Linked DNA regions of Homo sapiens: all the other regions are linked to region 2. Evidence: promoter capture Hi-C in 16 types of primary human blood cells and fetal thymus (Javierre and others, 2016). All regions are on one chromosome and are shown on one strand. Each heading gives the region's core, a stretch centred on a gene start or on the middle of the fragment in contact. The rest is flanking DNA. Distances are from core to core; before and after follow the strand shown. Region 1 overlaps LOC105374986 (a long non-coding RNA gene). Region 2 holds the start of H3C12 (H3 clustered histone 12). Region 3 has its middle 2.3 kb from the start of H2AC8. Region 4 has its middle 1.9 kb from the start of H4C8. Region 5 holds the start of H2BC4 (H2B clustered histone 4). Region 6 overlaps H2BC6-AS1 (H2BC6 antisense RNA 1). Region 7 has its middle 2.2 kb from the start of H4C6.

Region 1 (2,796 bases), core at 79-2,578, 1.6 Mb before region 2:
ATATGAGTAAGGACCCTGCAACACTACTAGCACAAGGCTTATTTACCCTTAACTTCCTAAATTTAAACGATAAATTTCAATCAGCCATAGAAAAGCACTTTGCAAAAACCTTTCAAAACATAAAACCTTTACTTTTTATGGAAAGATGTAAATAGTAAGCTATGGTGAGGTCCAAATGATTTGTTAACGTGGGGAAGAGGATATGCTTGTGTTCACACCCCCTCAGGTCCTCTTTGGATTTCTGCGCGACATATGAAACCATACCATGGCATGGCTGGAACCCAACCCGGTACCAAAAATAAAGGAAATGACCCTGCAGGACCTGCAGCCCCAAAACGATGCGGCTTCCTCGGACGACACAGGCCCCGGACATTATGCTGAAGAAGACAACTCAGGAAGCTGAGCAAATCCTGCTCCAGACACAAACACCATTCACTCCAGATAATCTGTTCCTTGCTATGCCCTCCGTTGTACATTGCAACACTCGCAGGGTATTGGTTTTTCTTATTCTCTCACTCTGCCTGCAACTCGTACCTGCTACACTCTATTAGGCCCATCTTCTAGATCCACCTTTCTTCCGCCCTGTTACTTGGGCAGACACCCCCTTCCCAGCTTCTACCAATGTGACTGCTTGGGTAGGAGGGATAAACATACCCCTGGTGGGGTTCCTCAGTAACAGCCCTATAGAACAATGTGCAAAATCACCTCTCCTGGATAGACCCCCACTCCTGTGGGTCACTCTTTGATTGGAAATGAATATTACTGATTATACTCACGCTTGTCTTATGTTACCTACTGCTTCTGGGATGCAAAGCTGGAACACAAGCTGTAACCGCTGCACCTGTCAAGCTTGTCACTGCACACATCTGTATTCTTCAATCAACAAAACCTGATGCAAAAACAGAAAAGGGGGAGATGTAGGAGATCAGTCAGAGTGGTGAGAGAAACTGTAAGGAAAGGAGCAGGCCTTCTGAAGGGTCAGAAGGCTCTGCATAGCTTCGGGGAAGAATAGCTAAAGGCAGCTGTTCTCTAACCCTGAAGCAGAGGGTGAGGAGTATGTGCAAGGGGGTGAAGGTGAAATTATCTTGATCAGGTTTGTTCGTTTGAAGTTGTCCAGGAATTGAACTTTGAACATCCGTGTGACTGACGTCCCCTGAAAGGGGAACAATATGTTAATTACCCACAGATTGTGTTTGCTCCAGGCTTTCGGCATTCTGCCTGCACTGAATAAAAGCAAGCAGCTCCAGCTTCTGGGGGCTGCACTTTGGCCACTTGATCCAGGCAGTCCCCTAGCTGCTACACTGCATACCTGTGTGTGAGTACTCCTTTCATCCATCAGTCAGCCAGTGTCTGTGGGGCAGACCCCGCAAAGCAGGACAACAAAGGGGAGGTTAAACAAGGATCATTAATTAAGAAGCCAGGGCCAGGCAAGTTGGCTCACACCAGCATTTTGGGAGGCCGAGGTGGGTGGACCACGAGGTCAGGAGTTCAAGACCAGCCTGGCCAAGATGGTGAAGCCCCATCTCTACTAAAAAATACAAAAATTAGCCGGGTATGGTGGCAGGTGCCTGTAATCCCAGCTACTCGGGAGGCTGAGGCAGGAGAATTGCTTGAACCAAGGGGCAGAGGTTGCAGTGAGCCAAGATCATGCCGCTGCACTCCAGCTTGGCTGATAGAGTGAGACTCCGTCTCAAAAAAAAAAAAAAAAGGCAGGAGACTTTTGTCCCTAATGCCTAATGTTGCTTAATTCTGGACATGACATTGTATATAACAAGAAAAAAGAGAACTCAAGTTATCTCATCTCTCTCAAGCTTAATGTGTTTTGGGAATTCCAACAGCTGGTTTTTTTGTGTGTTTTTTTTTCTTAAGGAAATGAGGTCTCATTTTGTCACCCAGCCTGGAGTGCAGTGGCACAATCATAGCTCACTGCAGCCTCCAGCTCATATCTCTAATGACTCTCCCACCTCAGCCTCCAGAGTAGGACGGGCTACAGGAATGCACCATCACATCATATTTTATTTATTTTCACAAACTATAGCACAGCAGTGGAATATGCTTAACATTAGGAGAGTTTTGAGACCCACTACCCGGGTTGAAATTTGTTACATCATTTTTATTAACTGGATGACTTTAGGCATTATGCAGAAACATTCAGCTTGTTTCCTCATTTACAAAATAGAAACAATGGATTTTCGTAATGATGAGGCGATTGCTCAAGCTTAGTTAGAGTTGGGTCTAACAAAGAATTCTGACTTCTATTTCACTTTTCTTTCTACCAGTATCAAGAACAAAATGGGGGCTTCTGCACAGCAACTTCAGAAGATAAGCAGATTTTCTGGAAATGGATTTAGAGCAAGAGAGGATATCTAAAATCAAAGATATATGACACTGCTGGGGCTCAGAAACTGATATCCCAAAATATTGCACTTTGACATGCTGAACTGAAGAAGCTACAAGGTCTCTCTGACCTTCTCCCCACCCCTCCTGTCTCTCAATCCTTTCCGTCTCCCAAAGCACAGGATGAAGTTGTTTTCAGAAGTTCCTTATCTGCCTAAAGTCCAAACCTGCCAAAGAATACAATTATCTTTAGTCTCTACTCTGAGTTTTCATTAAATGAACTAATATCACAGGGAGAAACACAAGCCTGTCAACAAACCTAGATAGATTTTGTCACAAACCACTGTCTACTCTGCAGCCCTAACAGACATTGTCCCAGGCCCTTGCATGTTCTTCAAGCCCATTGAATTCCCCTACAAATCATTTATTATATCCCTAAAAACACTTCTCAAGCTCCCA
Region 2 (2,850 bases), core at 156-2,655:
GTCACCCAGGCTGGAGTGCAATTGTGCAATCATAGTTCACTGCATCCTTGAACTCGTGGGCTCAGGCAATCTTCCTGCCTCAGCCTTCTGAGCAGCTAGAACTACAGTTGTGCGCTGCAACACCCACCTTTCTTTTTATTTGTTTTTCGTAGAGACAGGATTTTGCTGTTACCCAGGCTGATCTCAAACTCCTGGGCTCAGGGAATCCTCCTTCCACTGCCTCCCAAAGTGGAGGGCATGAGCCACCACGCCCACCCTGACAAGAGACATTTACCATCTATTTTTTCTGAGGACTACTAGCTATGTGTTTTCATCTACATAACAAGACCCGCCCCCCTTGCTAGCCAAGTCTCTTCCTTTCTCCCTCCTATAATCTGTTTTCCCAGGTTCCAAGCTTGCACTCTTTCTATAATCTCAAGGTGATATATAAACTTCTGTATCTCATTGGTGGGTGGGTCCTCATTTTGAAGTCTCCCGTGTCTATGTGCTAAATCAACCGGCCTCATGTCCGTGATTTTCAGCAAGCTTCCAGGGGACCCAAGGGCAGTGCCCGTTTCAGTTAAAAATGGCATCTCATTTAACCTGTAATCTAATTGTTAGTTATGGGGTTCTGGAGATGCTATCCCCAAAGGACAGCATGTGCAGGAAGGACTTTGGCTTTCCCCTTGAAGCGGATTGACCTTGGATATAGATTTGCTGACTTTCCTCGGAGAAAGTGAGACCCTTGTGAGATGGGTCACAGAGGACAAGTGAAAAGGACCGTCTTAGAAGACAAAGGACACTGCAAGGAATCAGAATGAACAACCCTTGACGACTTTCCGCCAGTTTATCCCTGCTTTAAAGTTGATTTAAGACAGTCGACCAATGGTGTGACAGCTATCCTCAGTGAGAATGTAAGTGGCTCTGAAAAGAGCCTTTGGAAGCTTGGAAGCAATTAAGAAACCCAAGATAGAGCAGGGGATTATGCTCGCTCGCCACGGATACGACGCGCAAGCTGGATGTCCTTAGGCATAATAGTGACACGCTTGGCGTGAATAGCACAGAGGTTGGTGTCTTCAAAGAGACCCACCAGATAGGCCTCGCACGCCTCTTGCAGCGCCATCACCGCCGAGCTCTGGAAACGAAGGTCGGTTTTGAAATCCTGCGCGATTTCTCGCACCAGGCGCTGAAATGGCAGTTTGCGGATGAGCAGCTCAGTCGACTTCTGATAACGGCGGATCTCACGCAAGGCCACGGTGCCTGGCCTGTAGCGGTGGGGCTTCTTCACACCGCCAGTCGCTGGAGCGCTTTTGCGCGCTGCCTTGGTGGCCAGCTGCTTCCGCGGTGCCTTGCCGCCGGTAGACTTGCGAGCTGTCTGCTTCGTCCGGGCCATAGTTGAGAAAGCTATGCTCTGAAAGCAAGCAGCTGAATGAGCAGTGGCTTCTACCAGAATTTATAACGATGATCTGATCCTGATTGGTCAGAACTGTTGTAGGAAAAACCTGGTTGGTTGTTAATACTATCTTCATTTGGTTCCTGCCACTTTTTTTTTTTTTTTTTTTTTTTTACCTGACGGCTTCTAATTCTGTCGCCTAGGCTGGAGTGTGGTGGCGCGATCTCAGCTCACTGCAACCTCCGCCTCCCGGGTTCAAGCGATTCTGCCTCAGCCTCCGGAGTAGCTGGGACTACAGGCACTTGCCACGACGCCCGGCTAATTTTTTTTTAGCAGAGAAGGGGTTTCACCATGTTGGCCAGGCTGGTCTCAAACTCCTGATCTCAAGTTATCCGCCTGCCTCGGACTTCCAAAGTGCTTAGATTACAGGCGTGAGCCACTGCGCTCGTCCTCCGCGCCACTTTTATTTATTGTTTTCAACCAATCATGTTAAGATTCCCCCAATGAAAAGATAATCTGACCTAGAATTTGTGTAGGTCAGTCGTAGTCTTAAACTCATTTCCAATGGGTCATTTTTCCTATTTCGGATCGTGTAAAAATACATACAGTAGAACAACGTATTTGCTAGTATTTCCAAAAAGTAGTTCCGTTTTGTAACTGCTTAATTAAATCTTTTAATGACTGTACCAAGACCCAGAACAAAAACAATTTAAACTTAGGCTGGCACATTCTCTAAAACACCAAAACTTTAGTTTTGTCCAGTGTGGTGTGGGGAAGGAGTTTGATAGGTGCTTGACTAAATGATACCAATAAATGGTATCTGACCTCTTCATTAACTGAGTTTAATGCAATCCAATGGCTGATTGGATTAATTATGTAAATTATTGCTTAATTTCATTAGCATGCGCGGAATTACAGGTTTGGGTCAGTGATTAGATTTTTGCCAGTGAATCTGGGTAGTTCTGACAACAGCATTTTATTAGGATGGAGATTTTAGTTGATCAAAGAACTACCAGGTTCTGGTATTGATAAAGACCCATAAAGACAACAAAAAGGTTAGTTTAACATTTATTATATTCACAGGAGCAAATGATCACCAGAAATACTTTTGTTTGGGTTTTGTTTTTCTTTTTTTGAGACGGGGTCTCGCTTTGTCACCCAGGCTGGAGTGCAGTGGCGAGGTCATGGCTCACTGAAATCTCAAATTCCTGGGACTCAAGTGTTCCTTCTGCTGTCAGTCCGCCAAATACAGGCGAGGGCCTCGCGCCTGGTATTTTTTTTCTTTCTTTTTTTTAGATGGAGTCTCGCTCTGTCGCCCAGGCTGGAGTGCAGTGGCGTGATCTCGGCTCACTGCAACCTCTGCCTCCTGGGTTCAAGCGATTCTCCTGCCTGTCTCCTTAGTAGCGCTCGCCACCACGCCCGGCTAATTTTTGTGTTTTTAGTAGGGACAGGGTTTCACCATGTTTGCCTGGGTGGTC
Region 3 (2,769 bases), core at 67-2,566, 1.7 Mb before region 2:
TTTAAGTTTTAAAGATGACTGCATTCCGGCTGGGCTCAGTGGCTCATGCCTGTAATCCCAACACTTTGGGAGGCCAAGGAGGGCGGATCATAGGGTCAGGAGTTCGAAATCAGCCTGCCCAACATAATGAAAGCCCGTCTCTACTAAACAAATACAAAAAGTAGCCGGGCGTGGTGGTGTGCATCTGTAGTCCCAGCAACTTGGGAGGCTGAGGCAGGAGAATCGCTTGACTCCGGGAGGCAGAGGCTGCAGTGAGCCGAGATCACGCTATTGCACTCCAGCCTGGGTAACAGAGCAAGACTACGTCTCAAAAAAAAAAAAAAAAAAAAAGACTACATTCCTCTAGTGAGAATTGTGTTTGTTGGATTTCTCTTTTCAAAAGGAGCAATTAACACAGTATTCTAAAATAAACACTAAACGAAACTAAGCAGTAACGGCCTGACGCCCTAGGTCAGACCTGTAATCCCAGCAATTTGAAAGACTAAGGCAGAAGAATCGCTTGAGCCCAGGAGATCAAGACCAGCCTGGGCAATAAAGCGAGACAGCCCCCTCACCTCCACAAAAAGTAAAAAGCCTGCCCTGCCCGGTGGCTCATGCCTATAATCCCAGCACTTTGGGAGGCCGAGATGGGCGGATCACTTGAGGTCAGGAGTTCGAGGCCAGCCTGGCCAACGTGGCAAAACCCTGTTTCTACTAAACATACAAAAAAATTAGCCAGGCATGGCGGTGGGCTCCTGAAATCCCAGCTACTCGGGAGGCTGAGGCAGGAGAATCGCTTGAACCCGGGAGGCGGGGGTTGCAGTGAGCCAAGATCATGCCATTGCACTCCAGCCTGGACAATAGAGCGAGACTCCGTCGTCTCAAAAAAAAAAAAGAAAAGAAAAGAAAAAGCCTGGCCTGGTGGCTCAGTCTGAGATCTTAGATACTTGGGAGAATTACGCGGGGAAGGATTGATTGAGCCCAGGAGTTCGAAGCTGCAGCGAGCTATGGGGGGCAAAGCAAGATCCTGTTTAGGAAAGGAAAAAAAAAAAAAAACAAAAAAAACCCAGCAGCAAAAACTTAGTTTTATGACCTAAATTTATAAATGGACTACACTGTAAAGCACAATTAATTATTCAACTTTAGTAGAAATCCAGTCACATTTCTCTGTAAAAAATCTCAAATCTAATTGGATCACACACCAGGCCCTATAAAGAGAAGTGATCTGTAAATCTGATATGAAAGGTCATGGCCTGCACCAAGCCAACCACACGGAAGTCCACTGGTGGCAGACAGCCTCCTAAGCAGCTGGCCACCAAGGCAGCCAGCAAGAGCACTCTGGCCACCAGCAGCTTGAAGGTGTCCCTCAGATATAGGCCCTGAATCATGCTGAAATTCATCGCTACCAGAAGTCACTGAGCTACTTAAGGGAAAAGCTGCCCTTTCTTAAATGTTAGGACAAGGTTGCTGAATGAGATTATTAAAAAAATTAATGCCCCTAGGGTTCTAAATAATTGCAGTTATATGTGTTCCACTGAACAGAAGTTATTGGCATCACAAATAATTTGCATCAAAAATAATTTCTGGTGATACAAATAACAGAAATTATTTGCATCACCAGACAAAAGCCTCCAAGAAGTAACTTCGATAGTTTGATACCTTTAATCAATGGTAAATTGTGAGATGATGTAAGCACATTTCCCTGCAAACTTTGTAAAAACTATAAATTTTTTATAGTGGGATACATTCTTCCCCCTCCCTTTTTTCCTCACAAGTCTTACAATGTTTCTTAAATAAAATTTTCACTAAAACACGATTAAAATATAGCAATTGCAAGATAAATGTCTATGAAGCCCCATAGTATAACTCCCTGACATTCTTTACTCAATCAAATTGGGGCTCAGAAACAATACCCCAAAATGAAGGCCAAAGAAGCAACCTCAGAAGCAAAATTTTTCTGTGACTTTCTCCTGCCCTCTTGTCTCTCAGTCCCATTCTCCCCTGAGGCTAGACATAGAAACTAGAATTCCGGTTTCCCAAGGTGGCTTATGACAACCAGAATCCTTTTTCCCCAAAGCCAACCACAAAAACTAAAAATATTACTCTAACTTCCCTTCCAACTTTTCGTGTAAAAACTGGACACAGAGAAATTATTTGATCCACCTTGTTTAATTGCAGGTCATAAGACCCCATTCCAGAGATGGAGCTGTCCCATACCCAATACCCAGAAGGAAGGAATGCATGTTCAAAGAGGTGAGGGATGAAATGAAAATTCTAAACCCCTTTGACAGAATAATGGACCCTCCTTTGGCTAAAAGACCCCAAAAGTTTAAGTTCCCAGGCATGACAGGATGGAGGCTGCACATCCTGTTTGTTTCTACCCCTCTTCCCCTTTCTAATCACTGCTAGATTTTCTCAAAGTCCGATTTGAGGGAATAATACACCGGAAAGCCCTTTTACTTACTTTATCTGGCCTCTTCCACCCTCCTCCATGGTGGTCCAGACAAGACAGATATTAAGGACCATAGAGTTTCTTGATAAATGACTGCAGGCCCACAACTGGTTGTGACCAGTCTCCTGAGAATGCAGATCATGGACTTCTGCCCTACATTTCAGTTTTATATATAGGACCTAATTATAACTCATTTAAATGTTAAATCTTCACCCCAAAGTGATCATGGGACATATCTTACATACATGTAAACCTAATACACATCTGATTGGGTGTCCTTCATGAATATTCATAGCTCCTCCTATAACCTGTTGAATATGTATATTTCTCCAACCCAA
Region 4 (2,922 bases), core at 407-2,906, 1.6 Mb before region 2:
TCTGGATGTCCAAAACTAAGATATGGAATTCTTTCCAAAACTTGTTCCTTCAGTATTCTTCCCCATTTTAGCAATTGATACCTCCATTTCAGTTGCTGTCAATGAAATCACTGGAATCATCCATAAATTTTCTTTCTCTCATACTCTACACATTCAGTGACTCAGAAACGAACTATCAACCTTCTTTCAAAATAAACAAAGAATCCAACAACTTTTCACAGCCTCTACCACTAATACACTGGTCCAAGCCACTGCCATCTAAACTCCTTTATTTTAGTACCCTCCTAACTGGTCTCTGCTCCTATCCAGGTTCCATCACAGTTTATTCTTCATCAGGCATCCAGACAGCTCATTCTAAAATATAAATCAGATCAACTCAGTCCTCTGCTCAAAACCCTGAGTGGCTCCCACCTCACTAGGAATAAAAGCCAAAGTAGTTACACCGCCCATATAGGAACTGCTCGCCTCCATTTGCCTTTCAGACCTCATCTCCTTTCCTCTGCACCCTTCTCGCCTCCATTTGCCTTTCAGACCTCATCTCCATTCCTCTGCACCTCTTCTGCCCTTTTGCCCAGACACAATAACTCTCTGCTATCTCCAGGCTTTGCTACTTGGTCGTCTATTTGGAATATTCTCTCGTCTTTTTTTCTGCAACCATCGCTCTATCAGTAAAGCTTTCCATGACTCTATCATTTAAAATTATCACGTTCTCGACTGGGCGCGGTGGCTCACACCTGTAATCCCAGCACTTTGGGAGGCCGAGGTGGGCGGATCACATGAGGCAGGAATTCAGGACCAGCCTAACCCCATAAGTACTAAAAATACAAAAATTAGCTGCGTGTGGTAGCGCATGCTTGTAATCCCAGCTACTCGGGAGGCTGAGACACTAGAATTGCTTGAACCCAAGCGAGGCGGAGGTGGAATGTGCCGAGATCGCGCCACTGCACTGCAGCCTGGGCAACAGAGCAAGACCCTATCTCAAAAAAAATAACTAATTAAACATCACCTCCTCCCTCCACACGTCTTTAGCCTGTTTCAGTGATAGCACTTAGCACCATCTGATAGTTTCACTTACTTTGCGTGTGAAAGCACACCCAACAGACGCCATGCATACAGAAAATACTGTTTTGTTCACTGTCATTCACTCCTATACTTCTCAGAGCCATGAACAGTACCTGGCATACGTTATGTGCTCAATTTTTGTTGTTAAATTTATATCCTCATACAAACCAGTGCCTTAGCTCTGATAACATCGTTCTTTTCATATTAATGTACAAGTGCATATCTTTAAAAAAGATGAAACCCTAACTCCATTGATTTTCTCGATTTCAAAGTTATAACCCTACAATTTGCTTGCTGACCACAAAGAGGAAAAATCTGATTTTACAATGGAACTATCATCCTAAAGCAGCAATTGTCCTATTATCTTCAACGTAGATAAACCAGACATATGTCTCTGTATAAACTGACAAGCATATTAACCTGATTTCAACTAAGTATATAAAAGTCACTTCTGCTCAGGACAGAGTATAGAAGCCAAGTAAAATGATGCCGTAAGAAAAGCCAATCCAGGCCGGGCGCGGTGGCTCACGCCTGTAATCCCAACACTTTGGGAAGCCGAGGCGGGCGGATCACGAGCTCAAGAGATGGAGACCATTCTGGCCAACATGGTGAAACCCCACCTATACTTAAAAATACCAAAATTAGCTGGGCGTGGTGGCGCGAGCCTGTAGTCACTTGGGAGGCTAAGGCAGTAGAATCGCTTGAACTCGGGAGGCAGAAGTTCCAGTGAGCCGAGATCACGCCACTTCACTCCAGCATGGCGAAGGTGAGACTCCGCCTCAAAAAAGGAAAAAAAAAGCCAATCCAAATCTCCTACAAGTTTGGTCTCTAGCAAATCATTGTCCTGATGCCTGAATGTGTACTTTTTCAAAAGGCGATCATTGCTGGTTAAGAATTTAAGTTTTCGTGGCCGGGCGCAGTGCCTCATGCCTGTAATCCCAACACTTTTGGGAGGTCGAGGCGGGTGGATCACGAGATCAGGAGTTCGAGACCAGCCTGGCCAACATGGTGAAACCCCATCTCTACTAAAAACACAAAAATTAGGCGGGCGGCTGTAATACCAGCTATTCAGGAGGCTGAGGCAGGAGAATCGCTTGAAACTGTAAGGCGGAGGTTGCGGTGAGCCGAAATCGCGCCACTGCACTCCAGCCTGGATGAAAGAGCAAAACTCCGTCTCAACAACAACAAAATAAGTTATGGTGATGTTTCTATATTGCTCACTAAGCGGTACCCTACCTTTTAATATTTTCGTAATATTCAAAAACACATTTTAAGTCTATTGGAAACAATACTTGCAAGCTCTCAAGTGAACATTTATATTGTTACCCCACACTGCCTTTTGTAGACGAGTTTTGTCACCAAGTCAAAAGCAGCAGCGCGCACGCCGCCTGGACTTGGGTCTGCGATCCTACTCACGCAGATGTGTTGCGCTCACGGATTCGCCTTGGTTTAAGGCCCGCCGTCTGGGTGCGAGCTTTCTTTGTTTTTAGCCCTTCCCGCCATTTTGGAAAGGGTAACTTGCAGTCTCTCCGCGAAGTTTCCAACTTCTGTAGTCTTTGAGAACCTTACGAACGCTTCAAGCTTAAACTGAAGGAGGAAGGCCCACGGGAATTATAAACTGTCACAATCCAGCTTACTCACTGATATCTAGTGTTAAAATGCCACAAGAAAGCTAAACATATTCAACATACCAACTTCCCTCAAGCAGAAAACAGTGGCTTTAAGTACTTTATGCCCAAATCCTAAACATGCGAGATTAAGCACGAGTAATTAAACGTTACCTGCAAATCTACACATGTGCACAGTAACTACTTCTCAGCAAAAATCTGGAACAAAGCAGGATAACAAGATGTCTGCTCT
Region 5 (2,700 bases), core at 87-2,586, 1.8 Mb before region 2:
TTCATTCTCCCCCACCCAGCGCCTAGTCCTTACTGGCCTTCAGTTCAGTGTTCGAAGGCTTGTCAATTTACCCAGCAGTTAAGAGTTGGCTTCTCCTAAAGCAACTTTCAAACTTGTCTGCATGTTACAAGCCCCCTACGGAGATTTTAAGTTTCAATCAGGCAACACACCATTTATGGCTGACTGAGCACTGGGATTCAAGCAAAATTTGATTTGATTTGAATCTTGAATAAACCAGTTGAATAGAATAAGATGTATGAAGCAACATCTGGCGCAGTGCTTACATCTTTAGTTCTGTACTGCCTTAGTGTTGTTATCAAAACTGACGCATATTAGGTTAAAAGACTATTACCGGGGCAGTTGGAAACCCAGGAGACACACCCTTCAGTATACTACGAAGGTGTGCGCCACGAAAACAGAGGGGGAGTCCTTCCTTAGGCAGTTACTGCCCAGGTTCCCACTCCGGTCCGCTATGTAAATCAGAGTCTCAAAACAGCTTTCCCTCGATTGGTTAATATTTAAAATGACAGGACAGCCTATTGGCTAGAAGCTGGTGGCGAAATTATGACATTACGGCAACCGTTGATCCTGGCGACGTAGACAGGGACAGACAGCTGGGTCTGAAACCTAAGCGAGCCTGCGGTTTCTTCCGGGAACGCCGAGTTAGCAAAATGGCCGCTTGTCTCCATTTTAAATTTAAGCACAACGAATTGACCCCAAAGCCATTTTTAATGGCTGGCTTCTTTCGGGTTCAGGACCCTTTGTCCCTCTCTAAGCTGCAACACTTGTCCCCACCCCTCTCCAGTTCCTATATTCTAATACCCCTCCGCCGCCAAATAAAATTTGGCGTCTGGCCACAGCTCTTTTAGTGGGTATCTGGGTGGCTCTTAAAAGAGCCTTTGGGGTTAGGTGTTAAGACGCTTACTTGGAATGTTTACTTGGAGCTGGTGTACTTGGTGACGGCCTTGGTGCCCTCCGACACGGCGTGCTTGGCCAGCTCTCCGGGAAGCAGCAGGCGCACGGCCGTCTGGATCTCCCTGGAGGTGATGGTCGAGCGCTTGTTGTAATGCGCCAGGCGGGAAGCCTCGCCCGCGATGCGCTCAAATATGTCGTTAACGAAAGAATTCATGATGCCCATGGCCTTGGAAGAGATGCCAGTGTCGGGATGGACCTGTTTCAGCACCTTGTACACGTACACAGAGTAACTCTCCTTGCGGCTGCGCTTGCGCTTCTTGCCATCTTTCTTCTGCGCTTTGGTCACTGCCTTCTTGGAGCCCTTCTTCGGGGCGGGAGCAGACTTGGCTGGCTCAGGCATCTTAAAACACCAGAAATGTGTCGAAAGTAAAGAGCGGATTTCTGCTACTTATAGGGCTTTTATGCTAATGAGGGATGGAGAGTACCTCTTAGTTAATTGGAAGACAAACTGCACAGTTGTCATCCGTGGGCAGAGCTATGCAAATGAGGTATGAAAGTACAGCTTTTCTATTGGCTATCTGACTAGCATTTGCTACCGACCAATCAAAAAGTCGGATTTACTCCCCAGGAACTACCTATAAAAGCGGCCATGTTTTACATATTTCTTGATTTTGTTTGTTTTCTCGTGAGCTTAGGCCGCTGGTTTTGGTGATTTTTGTCTGATTGCAATGTCTGGACGTGGTAAGCAAGGAGGCAAAGCTCGCGCCAAAGCGAAATCCCGCTCTTCTCGCGCTGGTCTCCAGTTCCCGGTGGGCCGAGTGCACCGCCTGCTCCGTAAAGGCAACTACGCAGAGCGGGTTGGGGCAGGCGCGCCGGTGTACCTGGCGGCGGTGTTAGAGTACCTGACCGCCGAGATCCTGGAGCTGGCCGGCAACGCGGCTCGCGACAACAAGAAGACTCGCATCATCCCGCGCCACTTGCAGCTGGCCATCCGCAACGACGAGGAGCTCAACAAACTGCTAGGCCGGGTGACCATTGCTCAGGGCGGCGTCCTTCCTAACATCCAGGCCGTGCTTCTGCCTAAGAAGACCGAGAGTCACCACAAGGCCAAGGGCAAGTGATTTGACAGGTATCTGAGCTCCCGGAAACGCTATCAAACCCAAAGGCTCTTTTCAGAGCCCCCCTACCGTTTCAAAGGAAGAGCTAACCTCACTGCTTGTAGGTAGAAGGAAAAAAGGCACTAAGGTAAGTTAATTTTATGCCAACCTTGAGCAAAGCGTATTACTGCTTTTCGGTTTTTGGGGAGCGCTGTTACTAAAGGTTGGTCTGTTTGTATGTAATAGTAGGTCAGTTACGTACTATCATACTCTAAAGAAATATTCTAGTTAATGCTTTGTAAGATCGACCATAGTTAGTGCCTAACAGTTTACATGCAGGGATGCCTCGTGATCTAAACACTTCGTTGTGATTACTTTAAAAATGTAAATTGAAGGCAAAACTCTAACGTGTTGGTAACCTTGTTTGGTCCTCCGACTAGTCCCCCGTCTATTTTTTTCTCAATTTAGGCTGTAGGCAGCCTCACTTTCCTAATTCTGTGAGAGTTATAGGTCCCATTCCTGCTAAAGTGCAGAGTATATTACCTAAAAGTTAACCAGGGAGTTGAAAGGTGTCTGTAAAACAGACTAATGTCCCTAATGTAGAACGGTGCCTGACATGCAACTTACTCTTGTATTTTAAGAAGCTCAAGCGTCTAGGTTGCCATTACAGGCAGAAAAGGAAATAGAG
Region 6 (2,700 bases), core at 78-2,577, 1.7 Mb before region 2:
GTAGGATGATGACAAAAGGTTTTCACTGCTGGGGAATGGATGATTGCGGGAGAAAAAGAATCTCGGAAAAGAGTCGGGAGGGAACTAGGAGGGAGTGGCCAGAAGGAAAGGAACAAATACTTGAGACGTGAAAAATGTGAGATGGATGAGGCTAGGTTTGGAGTCAAATGTTGGCTGAGAGGGAGAATTTAAGTGATGGATGGATGATCATTGTCTAAAAGAGGAATGAATTTAGAAGTTTGTCCTCATGCCCTCATAAACAAACACGAAATGATGGATTATGGGATACATTTTCCATAACATGGCAAGCGTGGTACTTGGACGGATAAATAAAAGCCTGAGTAATATTTTCTAAATTCTTAAAAGTAAGAAAGAGGGTCTAAGAAAGTAAACTCAGAGCCAGGGACTTGGCCCATGTTAAACCCCAAGCACTACAGCTGGCTTTTACTCAACCCGTGGAAACTGACCAGGGTATAGAGCCTGATATATCTTCTTAGGTGAAGGTGAGACACCAGACCTAAATCTGTCATCTCAAGAGTAGAAGGATGAACCACACATACAAACCCATCACAGATGAATGCAAATAAAAAAGTCAGCTCCGAAGTTGGGTTCTGAGCAGTGTAGATTCTACTGCTAAGGCTTGGACTACAAGCCATCGATGCTTACTTGTTCCTGGCATTCATACCATAGGGATTCAAACACCCAAGCTGAGAATTTAATTTAGGCATATCCCAGGCTGGTTTTGTGCCCCTGAGCACCCGGTAGAAACAAATACAAGTCATCTCTGGAAAAGAAGCTTCATTTTACACCTCAACAAATTGCCACAGCTAAAATATCCCCCCAAAAATGCACAAGGAGCTTCACAATCTAAATTAAACATCATGAAACTAGAAGTATGACTAATGAAAACAAAAGCAACAGACAATGGGAGCTGGGCGTGGTGGCTAATGCCTGTAATCCCAGCACTTCGGGAGGCTGAGGCTGGAGGATTGCTTGAGGCCAAAAGTTTGAGATCCTGTCTCTGAAAAAAAAAAAAAAAAAAAAAAGCAACAGACAATGGAAATGAAAAGGGAGAATTAACAAGATACAGACTTGAGGCCAGGCACGGTGGTTCATGCCTGTAATCCCAGCACTTTGGGAAGTTGAGGCAGGCGGATCACAAGGTCAGGAGTTCGAGACCAGTCTGGCCAACATAGTGAAACCCCGTCTCTACTAAAAGTACACAAAAAATTAGCCAGTGTGGTGGTGTGCGCCTTTAATCCCAGCTACTCAGGAGGATGAGGCAGGAGAATCGCGTGAACCCGGGAGGTGGAGTTTGCAGTGAGCCAAGATCGTGCCACTGCACTCCACCCTGGGCCACAGAATGAGACTCTGTCTCAAAAAAAAAAAAAAACAGACTCGAATTGACTAGTGTCTTTTTGAAAAAAGAAAAAGAGGCCAGGCACAGTGGCTCACGCCTGTAATCCCAGCACTTTGGGAGGCTGAGGCAGGCGGATCACCTGAGCTCAGGAGTTCGAGACCAGCCTGGCCAATATGGTGAAACCCCATCTCTACTAAAAATACAAAAATCATCCAGGCATGGTGGCATGCACCTGTAATCTCAACTACTCAGGAGGCTGAGGCAGGAGAATCGCTTCAACCCAGGAGGCAGAGGTTGCATTGAGCCAAGATCACGCAATTGTCCTCCAGTCTGGGCAACAAGAGTGAAACTCCATCTGAAGGAAAAAAAAAGAAACAAAAAGTCTTATAAATATATTGAGGGACTAAGGAAATACCAAAAGTGACCACATAGATTTGAAAAAAGAACCTAATAGAAATTCTAGAAAATAAACATGTAATTATAAGACAAATTGAAATGAAAAGCTTACTGCATGTGTTTAACAGCAGCCAATTGGACCTACCGGTAGAAATTTAATAAACTATGTAATCAGATCTTAAGGAATTATCTGAAATGCAGAGATAAAAATGCAAAAGTGAGTTTAAGAAACCTGGAATTAGGGCTGGGCAAGGTGACTCATGCTTGTAATCCCAGCACTTTCAGAGGCCAAGGCAGGAGGATTGCTTGAGCCCAGGAGTTGGAGACCAGCCTGAATAATATGGCAAACCCCCGACTCTACTGAAAATACAAAAAATTAGCCAGGCATGGTGGTGCGTGCTTGTGGTCCCAGCTACTCAGGAGGCTGAGGTGAGAGAATCACTTGAGCTAGGGAAATCAAGGCTGCAGAGAGCCATGATCACACCACTGCACTCCAGCCTGGGCAATGAGAGTGAGACCTTGTCTCAAATAATAAATAAATAAATGAAAAGAGACCTAGAATTAGTAGTAAAATATGATCTGACGTTGACCTAATCACAGTACCAGAAGAAACAATCAGGGAGAATGATGCAAATGTGAGATTTAAAAGATCATGGCCAATAATTTTCTAGAATGGATGGATTACTAATAATTAAAAATAATATAAGAAAATAAAAATTGAAACCTAATGTATTGCTCATCAAAGCAAGCCTAGGTTAACAAAGTAAATATTTAAACAGAAAAATGATACAAAAAAAGGGAGTCACTATGTGTGCTGTGAATTAATTAAGCTCTCCAAATTTTTACAGATGTAATACTGATTTTCAAAAGATTGTGACTTCTGTTACATATTGACATATGACCTCACACTAAAGCACTGTTTGAAATTCTGCATGTAGGAGGAT
Region 7 (2,700 bases), core at 132-2,631, 1.7 Mb before region 2:
AAAAAAATTACTAAGCTTGTCTTAAGTAATTATTTACTCTCTTGCATGTATTAGAAACAAGTCTCTGGGACTTAAGACCGTGTTATACACCACTGAAATACAAATGTGGTTTATAAAAAAGCTAAACTTATAGAATTGGATTAGTAGGACCCCACAATTCCAGTAGGGAAGCATTTTATAGGTTTCTGGAGGCAGGGGCGGTGCATCATTATGGATATCATTTTCAACAGTGATAGTCACAAGCATACTCTAAGTATTTTTTTTTGGGACCATAGCTTTATATTGCCTAGACGTAAAGGTACAATTAAAATTCAGATTGTTTACTGTTTATTATTTTGATCATTATTGTAGTCTTAATAGTTGTTGAATAATTGTTGGAATTGTTCACCGTGTTAGATATAGTCAATTAACAGATGCCACCATTTCATTCTTGTGCAACACTGACTGGTTCCCATAGCTACTTAGGATCTCAGTAAGTAAAAAGGCATTGGGCTAACTAATCTCTGCTCTTTCTGGAGGGCAATAACTGAGACTCAGTTTCACCAACAAAGTTCGCCAGATGTTCAAAGAGGAAAGGGGCTAGGCTACATAAGTTGGGACCTGGTACTTATCTTCTCTGTAATTGTAGCAAGGACAAGGTTCCTGAAAGCTGGATCACCCCATGGACTGTAAACTTGAAGTCCTGCAAAGTTTCACCTATTACTTTGGTAGCCCTCAAAAAGAGTTCTGTGTTGCTTTGGAATCCTAAATCTGAATATAATCTAAAACAGTAGATTTCCCATTACACTGAGGTTGGAACCATTTATTTTATAGATGCAAAAAGTAGCTAGGAAAAACTAGTTAGATAAGTGATAGCTATCTAACTTAAGGCCCAGTGTTCTCTTCATTTTGTGTTAACTCCCCCATCCCCACCACCACCATAGTAAATGACTATGAGAGTTGTAGGTAGTATTCAATAGATCAATCCAGTGACACTGTGCTTAAGCATCACACAATTCAGATTTTAAAGATTTCCAAAAAAAAAAAAAGAAACTATATAGAATAAATATTAAAAGGGGTGAAAACATATATAGACTATTATAGAAAATAAAGCTTTGTGTTAGAATCAAACGTGTTCAAAAAGTCCATGAGAAATCACATCGATTGTAACCGTCTATGAGGTAGTCTTACCTGAGGACACTGGCTCCTTGAAATTCCTCTTCAAGTACAACAGTATTGTGTTAATTTTATTTCCTAAGAAGGCCACTACTATACTCAAACTTACAGTTTTCTCTTTACATGTCTCAGGCATCCACCAAACTCCCTCCTCCCTTCTAGACTGGATTAGAAGCTCTTCAGAAGAAACCCCCTTATCACAGATACAGCCCAATAAAACTTTCTGCGATGATAAAAATATTCTGTATTAACACTGTCCAATAGGTAGCCACTAACCATATGTGGCTACTGAGTACCGTAATGTGGCTAGAGTAAGTGTGCAAATTAATTTTTAATTTAAATTAATTTAAATAAAAATGAGCACATGTTGCTAGTGGCTAATATAGGACAGCAGAGCTTTAAAACAATTATTCTCAAACTTGGAAGAGCATACCTACCACCCACTTAGAGATCTCATTAAAAATGTAATATCAATTCCATTGATTTGGGGTTGGGCCCGAAATTCTGTATGTCTAACAAGCTTCAGAGTGATGCCAGTATAGCTGGGATATGGCTGCTCCGCCCTTAAATACCTGACAGTAAGTAGAAGTATGCTGGTCTGATATCTGCCCCCTAACCCTGAGTGTACTTTTCCCTTTACTAAACTTTTGAGTTCTTTAAGAGAATAAATGTGATTATCTTTGTAAACCTGGTATTTGTACACTATTCTTGGCATGTAGTGGACATTAAATTGTTGAATGAATGAATGATGCTTGTTTGGTGCCTACCTCAAAAAGGAGAGCACTTGAGATCCTTGTGTCTATTCCTACAGGTAACTGAACCTAAGCCAAAATTTAAGTAGACTCTTAACTCCACAAAATGAATAATCTTCTCACTGCTTTTAGGCACCAGCAGAGACGGGATTTTTAAGTTACCCTTGCAGTATATAGGAGGCAATGAATGTGAAGCAGTAGACTGTAAGAGTTAATGTTGAATTTTTCTACTACACATACCCTATGATCTGTGTGTAGAACACTTCTTCCGGAATCTTTTATTAGGACAGTATTTCACAGAATTTATTAGTATTATTTTTGTTAATTTACAAACCTTTATTCACCATGATTTACCATGTATGCTTTAGTGGCATGAAAGCAGTGGTAGGTAGCAAGGTAGTGAGACTCCAGAATCGAGCCAACAATACAATGCCATTTATTAGAGGATAATGTCTTCAAGCCTGGGATTCCTTATCTTTACACCTCAGATATTGCATTATACATTGAAAAACTAAGAATGAAACTTCAATTAATATTGGTTTCCCTTACTAGAGGTCTTTCTTTATTAGGAATGCCAAAAACGATGTGAATGTATATGTCTCTGCCAAACGCTAAGTCTCATGATTGGCCAAATTTAAGAAGTATTGCTACATTTTAAGAATTAATAAAAATGGCCGGGCGTGGTGGCTCACGCCAGTAATCCCAGCACTTTGTGAGGCCAAGGTGGGTGGATCACCTGAAGTCAGGAGTTCGAGACCACCCTGGCCAACATGGCGAAACCCCGTCTTTACTA

Evidence for each region. The method cuts DNA at HindIII sites, captures the fragments that hold promoters and counts their contacts. A CHiCAGO score of 5 or more calls a contact.
Region 1: a contact is called between a fragment that was not itself captured here and the fragment with the promoter of H3C12 in region 2, in 1 of 17 cell types (M0 macrophages). The highest score is 6.4, in M0 macrophages.
Region 3: a contact is called between a fragment that was not itself captured here and the fragment with the promoter of H3C12 in region 2, in 12 of 17 cell types (fetal thymus, total B cells, erythroblasts and 9 more). The highest score is 22.1, in fetal thymus.
Region 4: a fragment that was not itself captured here is called in contact with the fragment with the promoter of H3C12 in region 2 in 8 of 17 cell types (fetal thymus, non-activated CD4 T cells, erythroblasts and 5 more); the score reaches 27.3 in fetal thymus.
Region 5: the fragment with the promoter of H2BC4 here is called in contact with the fragment with the promoter of H3C12 in region 2 in 12 of 17 cell types (total B cells, total CD4 T cells, M0 macrophages and 9 more); the score reaches 19.1 in total B cells.
Region 6: a fragment that was not itself captured here is called in contact with the fragment with the promoter of H3C12 in region 2 in 12 of 17 cell types (fetal thymus, total B cells, naive CD8 T cells and 9 more); the score reaches 30.2 in fetal thymus.
Region 7: a fragment that was not itself captured here is called in contact with the fragment with the promoter of H3C12 in region 2 in 12 of 17 cell types (erythroblasts, fetal thymus, total B cells and 9 more); the score reaches 22.0 in erythroblasts.

What each region holds. Positions count from the first base shown.
Region 1 is chr6:26,259,093-26,261,888 of GRCh38, forward strand. LOC105374986 (a long non-coding RNA gene) reads left to right here. Exons shown (of 3, transcript XR_926613.3): 2 at 227-1,315; 3 at 2,280-2,796. Among named protein-coding and RNA genes, the nearest start is that of H2BC9, 8.9 kb to the left of the region's middle. The HindIII fragment of the contact is 962 bases long and covers 848-1,809 here.
Region 2 is chr6:27,889,421-27,892,270 of GRCh38, forward strand. H3C12 (H3 clustered histone 12) reads right to left here and starts at 1,406. Exons shown (of 1, transcript NM_003535.3): 1 at 895-1,406. The coding sequence starts at 1,372. The coding sequence ends at 962. RefSeq lists enhancers at 1-352, 353-997, 639-938, 998-1,642, 1,159-1,378. The HindIII fragment of the contact is 2,915 bases long and covers 922-2,850 here.
Region 3 is chr6:26,217,818-26,220,586 of GRCh38, forward strand. It overlaps the pseudogene H3C5P. Among named protein-coding and RNA genes, the nearest start is that of H2AC8, 2.3 kb to the left of the region's middle. The HindIII fragment of the contact is 3,747 bases long and covers 1-2,769 here.
Region 4 is chr6:26,282,191-26,285,112 of GRCh38, forward strand. No RefSeq gene overlaps it. Among named protein-coding and RNA genes, the nearest start is that of H4C8, 1.9 kb to the right of the region's middle. RefSeq lists enhancers at 2,185-2,920, 2,629-2,922, 2,921-2,922. The HindIII fragment of the contact is 1,969 bases long and covers 673-2,641 here.
Region 5 is chr6:26,122,590-26,125,289 of GRCh38, forward strand. It overlaps H2BC4 (H2B clustered histone 4), which reads right to left and starts at 1,337. Exons shown (of 1, transcript NM_003526.3): 1 at 878-1,337. The coding sequence starts at 1,315. The coding sequence ends at 935. It overlaps H2AC6 (H2A clustered histone 6), which reads left to right and starts at 1,583. Exons shown (of 1, transcript NM_003512.4): 1 at 1,583-2,101. The coding sequence starts at 1,644. The coding sequence ends at 2,036. RefSeq lists enhancers at 1-128, 129-814, 262-1,461, 510-1,249, 1,493-2,692 and 4 more and a silencer at 1,121-1,486. The HindIII fragment of the contact is 15,442 bases long and covers 1-2,700 here.
Region 6 is chr6:26,159,491-26,162,190 of GRCh38, forward strand. It overlaps H2BC6-AS1 (H2BC6 antisense RNA 1), which reads right to left. Exons shown (of 3, transcript NR_186648.1): 3 at 784-1,715. It also overlaps a transcript of H2BC5 not described here. Among named protein-coding and RNA genes, the nearest start is that of H2BC5, 2.7 kb to the left of the region's middle. RefSeq lists a silencer at 11-305 and an enhancer at 1,081-1,832. The HindIII fragment of the contact is 1,067 bases long and covers 795-1,861 here.
Region 7 is chr6:26,236,840-26,239,539 of GRCh38, forward strand. No RefSeq gene overlaps it. Among named protein-coding and RNA genes, the nearest start is that of H4C6, 2.2 kb to the right of the region's middle. The HindIII fragment of the contact is 583 bases long and covers 1,091-1,673 here.